Regions from separate parts of the Homo sapiens genome. Here region 2 is linked to region 1. Evidence: promoter capture Hi-C in 16 types of primary human blood cells and fetal thymus (Javierre and others, 2016). All regions are on one chromosome and are shown on one strand. The core of a region is centred on a gene start or on the middle of the fragment in contact, and the rest is flanking DNA. Distances in the headings are between cores, read along the strand shown. Region 1 holds the start of MAPK1IP1L (mitogen-activated protein kinase 1 interacting protein 1 like). Region 2 overlaps ATG14 (autophagy related 14).

What was found. The method cuts DNA at HindIII sites, captures the fragments that hold promoters and counts their contacts. A CHiCAGO score of 5 or more calls a contact.
Region 2: a contact is called between a fragment that was not itself captured here and the fragment with the promoter of MAPK1IP1L in region 1, in 1 of 17 cell types (naive CD4 T cells). The highest score is 5.5, in naive CD4 T cells.

The regions. Positions count from the first base shown.
Region 1 is chr14:55,049,825-55,053,210 of GRCh38, forward strand. It overlaps MAPK1IP1L (mitogen-activated protein kinase 1 interacting protein 1 like), which reads left to right and starts at 1,823. Exons shown (of 4, transcript NM_144578.4): 1 at 1,823-1,979. RefSeq lists enhancers at 1,185-1,874, 1,414-1,613 and silencers at 1,644-1,883, 2,234-2,393. The HindIII fragment of the contact is 10,117 bases long and covers 1-3,386 here.
Region 2 is chr14:55,370,663-55,374,048 of GRCh38, forward strand. The region is part of intron 9 of ATG14 (autophagy related 14); the gene reads right to left. It also overlaps a transcript of FBXO34 not described here. Among named protein-coding and RNA genes, the nearest start is that of ATG14, 39 kb to the right of the region's middle. The HindIII fragment of the contact is 5,534 bases long and covers 1-3,386 here.

The DNA.
Region 1 (3,386 bases), core at 573-3,072:
CCAAGCAAAGGTTGCCTGTAGAGAAGCCCACAGGGACAGGAATGGCCTAGATCTAGACCCCTCCAACGTGCTCAGCTACTGGCTGATTGCAGGCAAGGAAAAGTTGGAGGCTATCCATTACTGGTACACAGCGCCAGGACTAGGGTATGGTGAGGCACTTAGGGACAAATATTTGACTATACGACTAAGGAAGACAATGTTTTGGTACAATATTGTAATATCTGAATTGATGCAAAAAAGCCTATGATGAGCAAGATACCAAATTTCAAATCAAACCTGACCAGATTACTGATTTCTTGTTGCTTCAGGTTTCAGCATGGCTCAAGGCACTGCTGATTCACTGTCACCAGTGAGAACAGGCTAGGTCCACACCAGTCGTGTAATTTTCCATAGGCCTGTGTGCCCTTACCCAAAAATAAGACTCTCGGCTTAGGTATTTGAAGTTCCTCTGTTGCCCCTTTTTCAGTGTGAGAATTGTGTGTGCTGTGGAAAACATCCAGGGATGTCTTCCTTTAAACAAGTTCATGGTTAAATGGCCACCCACTCACTCACTAATGCCTTACACAAAGCAAGATGCAAGTGTACCACATACTTTTAGGATATTTTTATATCTTAAAAAATGTATATTGGCCGGGCACAGTGGCTCACGCCTGTAATCCCAGCACTTTGCCGAGGAGGGCGGATCACAAGATCAAGAGATCGAGACCATCCTGGCCAACGTGGTGAAACCTCGTCTCTAAATACAAAAATTAGCTGGGCAAGGTAGCGCGCGCCTGTAGTTCCGGCTACTTGGGAGGCTGAGGCAGGAGAATCGCTTGAACCCGGGAGGCGGAGGTTGCAGTGAGCCGAGATCGCACCGCGCCACTGCACTCCAGCCTGGCGACAGAGCAAGACTCCGTCTCAAAAAAAAAAAAAAAGTATATTGCATATATGTATATATTTTGCACACCATATAATTATCACGACATCTTTATTGCTAGTTAGTAGGTTCCTTGACTGGGGTCATGTCATCTGTGCCTGACACAGGAGGTAATGTTTATTCAGAAATGAAGATGGCGGCTGGGCACGGTGGCTCACACCTGTAATACCAGCTCTTTGGGAGGCCGAAGCGGGCAGATCGCTTGAGGCTAGCAGGGTGAGACCCCATCTCTATCAAAAACACAAAAATAAGCCGGATGTGGTGGCACATGCCTGCAGTCTCAGCTACTCGGAGGCTAAGATGGGAGGATTGCTTGAGACCAGCAGGCAGAGGTTGCAGTGAGCCGAGATCGCGCCACTGCACTCCAGCGTGTGTGACAGAGGCCCTGTCTCAAAAACAACAAAAAAGAACATGGGAGAAGAGGCATTGATGAGGAAAAATCTACAAAGAAAGCAAATATCAATTTGTCAAGCTATTTGCAAACGTCTTCCCTTTCCTGTATTAATATTTTCCCTCTCCCCACTTTTGGCCCGAGGATCTGAGTCCTCGGGTCAGGCCGAAATCAGACCGCGTCCATACCCAGCCTCCTTCGAGGCCTAGCTGTAAAAACCGCTGAGCAAAAGGAATCCAGAATCAGCCCTCAAGCAACTCAAGACAAGTTAGCAATTTCCGCCGGGAAGCCGTGAACATCGGCAGCCACTGGCGTTTCCTCCGAGTCCTCGGAACTCCGGAAACTCTGGGAGCTTTTAGCCCGCCCACCAGGGGAAAGCGGCCCGGAGCCGGCGCCAGGTGGAGCCCATCCCCCTAGGCCTGGCGGGCCGCAGTACCGCCAGGGGCCTGCGGGAGGCGCACGCGGCGCGGCCTGAGGGGAGGGGGAGAACGGGCGGAGGCGGTGCGCTCGGCGCTTCCTGTTCCGGCGCCAGGAGGAGCCGCGCGCTGCTGGTGCTGTTGCCGCCGCTGCTCTAGCTGCCGTCAGTCAGGCTGCGCCCGCGTCTTCAGGGCCCAGTCCCTCGGACCCATCGCCGCTTCTAGACCCTACTGCGGTCTCGGATATTGCCGGGTGAGGCTGCTTCGGTACTAGTGGGAGTCGTGAAGGGGAATCGGGGAGCTGGGGTTGCGGAGCCCGCGGGCGCGGCCAAGCGGGAAGCGGGCGCGGTGACCGAGGTGCATCGAGTCACGTCCAGTGCTCGGGCCGTGGTCGCCTGCCTGGCACCAGGACTAAGCGTTTCTATCGGTCGCCTTCCTCCACGCTGCGGGCTGCCTGGGGATCGCCCCCCAGGGAGAAGGTGTCGGAGGCCGCTGACGTCGCGCCCGACGGGTTTCTGGGCGCCTGACGTCAGGTCTGGCTGCGGGGCGGGGCGGGCGCGGGCCGGCCCCTCCCCCACCCCTTCCCGGCGGGCGCGACCCGCTAGGAGGCCGGTTCGCTCCGGTTGATCCCGGACTCCCTTTGTTCGTGCGTCCCTAAACGGCTGCCGGCCTCGCGCCCCTTGGCCCCGATTTCCCCTCTACCCCCACCCTATTACACTCATTCATTAATTTTTAATAAAAAGGGAAAGGCCTGAAAAGATTCTTACAAGAGTCTCGGGCGCTTGTTAATCCGCAGTGTGACAACGTTCTGGTTATGACTTACTAGAGGAATTGCTCACGGATACATTAGATGAATACCCAGGGCAAACCACGAGAAGGGCAGAATTCAGTGATCTCCTTTTTTAGGACTGAGGAGCACATACCTGCGATAGCGTATGCATAGCTGGACCGTTTTCCTCTTTACCTTGAAAAGCAAGAGTACAGCTTTTAATAGGTAAAGATTCCAGTGTTAAAGCATGAAGCCAGGCTCACTCGACCGCAAGAATTTTTTTTAGTTTTACTACTAGAGAAATACACACCTGGGGGTTGTAAAGGTCTGTTTCGAAAAGGAACCCTCATTACAGGCAAAGGTAGCCTTCAGAAACATTTCATAAGTTCTTTGTTCACTGGTGTTCTTTGGGGGAAGAATAGAAATTTTTCATGCTGGCATCTCTGAGCCCACAATGCAAAGCGAGTTTGCTTCAGAAACTTGGAGTGAATTGCAAATATTGGAATGTTCTTTTCCTCACTCCAGGCGGAATGGGTAAAATCCATCCCCAGTCTCTTAACTGAAACTTTTGAAGCTAGTGTGTTTTGAATTCAAAAATACTTGGATTTTATCTTCATCTTTTTAGAAAGTCATGTTAGACGAGAGATAACACCCCCAGCAGAGTGGGGCACCCCATAATCCAACATTAATATTTGCAGCAATAGATGTGAACATTCATTCTAAGTGGGGGCGAATAGAAACTATAAATAGCTTCAGGTCACATTTTGCCACCATGTAAGTTTTGTGCCAAACTAGGGCAGATAAAGATTTATGGACCTAAAAGTAGGCATCATAAAAGCTAATATTTGTTGAGGTTTTGCTATATTCCAGGCAGCGACTAAGAGATTTGTT
Region 2 (3,386 bases), core at 492-2,991, 320 kb after region 1:
ACAGAGTCTCGTTCTGTTGCCCAGGCTGGAGTGCAGTGGCGCCATCTTGGCTCCTGCAACCTCCACCGCCCAGGTGCAAGCGATTCTCCTGCCTCAACCTCCTGAGTAGCTGGGATTACAGGCACCTGCCACCATGCCCGGCTAATTTTTGTATTTTTAGTAGAGACGGGGTTTCACCACGTTGGCCAGGCTGGTCTTGAACTCCTGACCTCAAGTGATCCACCCACCCCTGCCTCTCAAAACGCTGAGATTACAGTTGTGAGCCACCACGCCCGGCCGCCTTTCTGCTTCTTTTTCCCCTCCCTTTCAAATGCCCCTCAGCTCCTGCTCCAGGGCAGCCAGGCTGCATGTCCTCCCTGTAGGCAGCCACCCCCACCCACTGCCTTCCAGGGAACTGCCCTGCAACCAGCTACAGGGTGGGACCAAGGTGCCGCTCTCTCCCTGCTGCTGCCCCCAAGATAAGCACACGATGCCTTGGTTCATTTAAGGGTTTCACTGATAACGACTTTGGGGAAAATAGGAGAGGTCGAAATAAATAGCAGGCAGAAATGAGAGCCTAGAATCGTATAGCTTGCCATTTCAGCCTATGGTCCCAAATTCTCCACAGCCTTCACAATGATGAATGGCTAGCACTGGCTTCCAACGCACCTCACCAGGTCTGCACCGTTGACTCACTTTTTACAGAAGCAAGCAGCCCTCATTCCTCCCAGACACCTGTGCTTCCCAGATGGATTAAGCAATAATAATAGCTAACATTTATGCTCCAGGGACTGTTTTTAGGGCTTTATTAAATTGGAAGATACGCCATGGGGTTTCCCACTTGGTCTCCAGTGAGCAATTTACATTTTCCAAGAGCCCCTCAGGCCGGGCGCGGTGGCTCACACCTGTAATCCCAGCACTTTGGGAGGCTGCGGCGGGCAGATCACGAGGTCAGGAGATCGAGACCATTGGCTAACACAGTGAAACCCTGTCTCTACTAAAAATACAAAAAATTAGCTGGGTGTGATGGCGGGCACCTGTAGTCCCGGCTACTCAGGAGGCTGAGGCAGGAGAACGGTGTGAACCCCAGAGGCGGAGCTTGCAGTGAGCCGAGATGGCGCCAGTGCACTCTAGCCTGGGCGACAGAGCGAGACTCTGTCTCAAAAAACAAACAAAAAAACAAAGAGCCCCTCAGACTAGGGGTGCTCTCAAGTTTACTAGGCCCCACCCTGCCCAGAAGTCAGTATTTTGCAAGGGTGAAAGGAGTAGGACTTTCTACTGCCCCTTGAATTTCTCTGCCAGCAAACTAATGGCCACTGCAGTTTTTAGCTCTGAGCACCCTCTTCTCAAGTTTCTCCTTGCACTTCATTTCTTTTCTCCCCTTTTTCTTTTCCTTGGCAAACAGTTCTACTCTAGAGCCATCTTTTCCGATTCCTCTCCTAGCGCCACTCCCAAATATCCTCTGGTTACTAAACCCTCAGGCTCATCTCACATATCTGAACCAGTCTCAAAACTTTAGCTGGCTGGGACTCCTCCCCTCCCACCTCCCACTCTGTCTGGGGTCACCAGGGCTACCTGTTATCATTAAATAAGCCCCCTTTCCATTCTCAATTTGTCACCCTGGCCCAGGTCCTCACCATATCACCACCACTTTCCCATCTGCCTCCTCTTGCTGGAGAGCTGCCTCTCTCCTCCTGGCACGCACCCACTAAAAAAGTTCACAATTTAAATTCCTTCCCTGGGCTCCCTCCTTTACTAAACCAAAGATGCTCTGATTCTGTTCTGTTCAGCTGTGCAGTCTAGGGGACCTCAGAACTGACTGCCAGGCTAAGTCTCTCATCTTCCCCAGGATCCCCCAAAGGTCCCAGTCAGCTTTTTACCACAGCTCACTCCTCCCTTCCTTCTTTCCCTTTCTCCCTCCCTCCCTTCTTTCCATCCTTTCTTCCTCACTCCTTCCCTTCCTCCTTCCCTCCCTCCCTTCCTTTCTTCCCCAGTCAGCTTTTTCCACAGCTTGCTCCTTCCTTCGCTCCTCCCTGCTCCCTTCCTTCCTTCCTTCCTTTTTACCACAGCTCCTTCCTTCTTTCCTCCCTCCCTCCAAGGCTCAGCCTGTTTTCTTCTTTGATGCTGCCTTCTCCAATCCTGGGGTCTTAGTTTTCCCAGGAGACAGGCAGAAGGGACAGAGAGGAGGAAATGTCCAAGTTCCCGGTGGACTCCGGTTCTCTGCGTGGAGAAACCCACCTGGCACGGAGCAGGCGCTCAGCTAAGTACAATGAAAAGCGACTGAATGGAAGACTCCTCAAGGGGCCAGTATGGAACAATTTTGGTTCCAATGATCAACCTACATTTCTGAGAAGCCACAGAGCAGGAGGAGAGGCCCCTGCGATGTTTCTCCACCCAGTGCCTCTCCCACTTCTAGATTAGAGATACATCACCTGCCTGCCAGACCCCAAGCTAGAGACACAGCACACACAACCAACTAGCAAAATAATTCATCCTATTTTGCTTAATGTCTTTGGGGAATTAAGATTATAAAATTGTTTCCTAATTTTTAGTTTAGCTGAATAATGGATATCTTTTTATTCAAGACCCTGAACCAGGAATACTCATTTTCTCATGGTGCTGCAGGGAGGTATTCTACCAATTAAGGCAACAAAAGGATCTTTCTAGCTTTGTAAAAGTCACTTTTATAATATATCCTATTTCAAATATGTGGGAGTGTGTGCATTGATGGACACAGAAACTGCACAAAGGATAAGCAATGGGCAAAATATTAATAGGTCAATCTGGGTAAGGGTGTATATGACTGTACTATTTTTATTACTTATTTTTTTATTTTGAGATGCAGTCTCACTCCGTTTCCCAGGCCAGAGTGTAGCAGCACGATCTCAGCTCACTGCAAACTCCGCCTCCTGGGTTCAAGCGATTCTCCTGCCTCAGCCTCCCAAGTAGCTGGGGTTACAGGCACCCGCCACCACGCCCAGATAATTTCAGTACTTTTAGTAGAGATGCAGTTTCCCATGTTGGCCGGGCTGGTCTCAAACTCCTGAACTCAAGTGATCCGCCCACCTCAGCCTCCCAAAGTGCTGGGATTACAGGTGTGAGCCACCATGCCTGGTCCTATTTTTATTTTTTTGTAATTTTTCTGTAAGTTTAAATTTGTTTCAAAAAAAAAAAAAAAAGTTTATCTTTTCAGAATAGAATCCTCAGTTGTGCCGGTCTGAACAGAAACAGGAAATCCCACCCAGGTTCCATGAACAATCTTCTCTACACTTTGATTCTGATGAAGCAGGTGTGAAAAGGGGACTCCTGAAGTTCTACTTCCTGTCCTCTGGCCATAAACTTAGATGTGACTCACAGCCTAATTGTGTGTGCAATTCTCAATGGAAAACCTGACTCAAGAGTAAGCC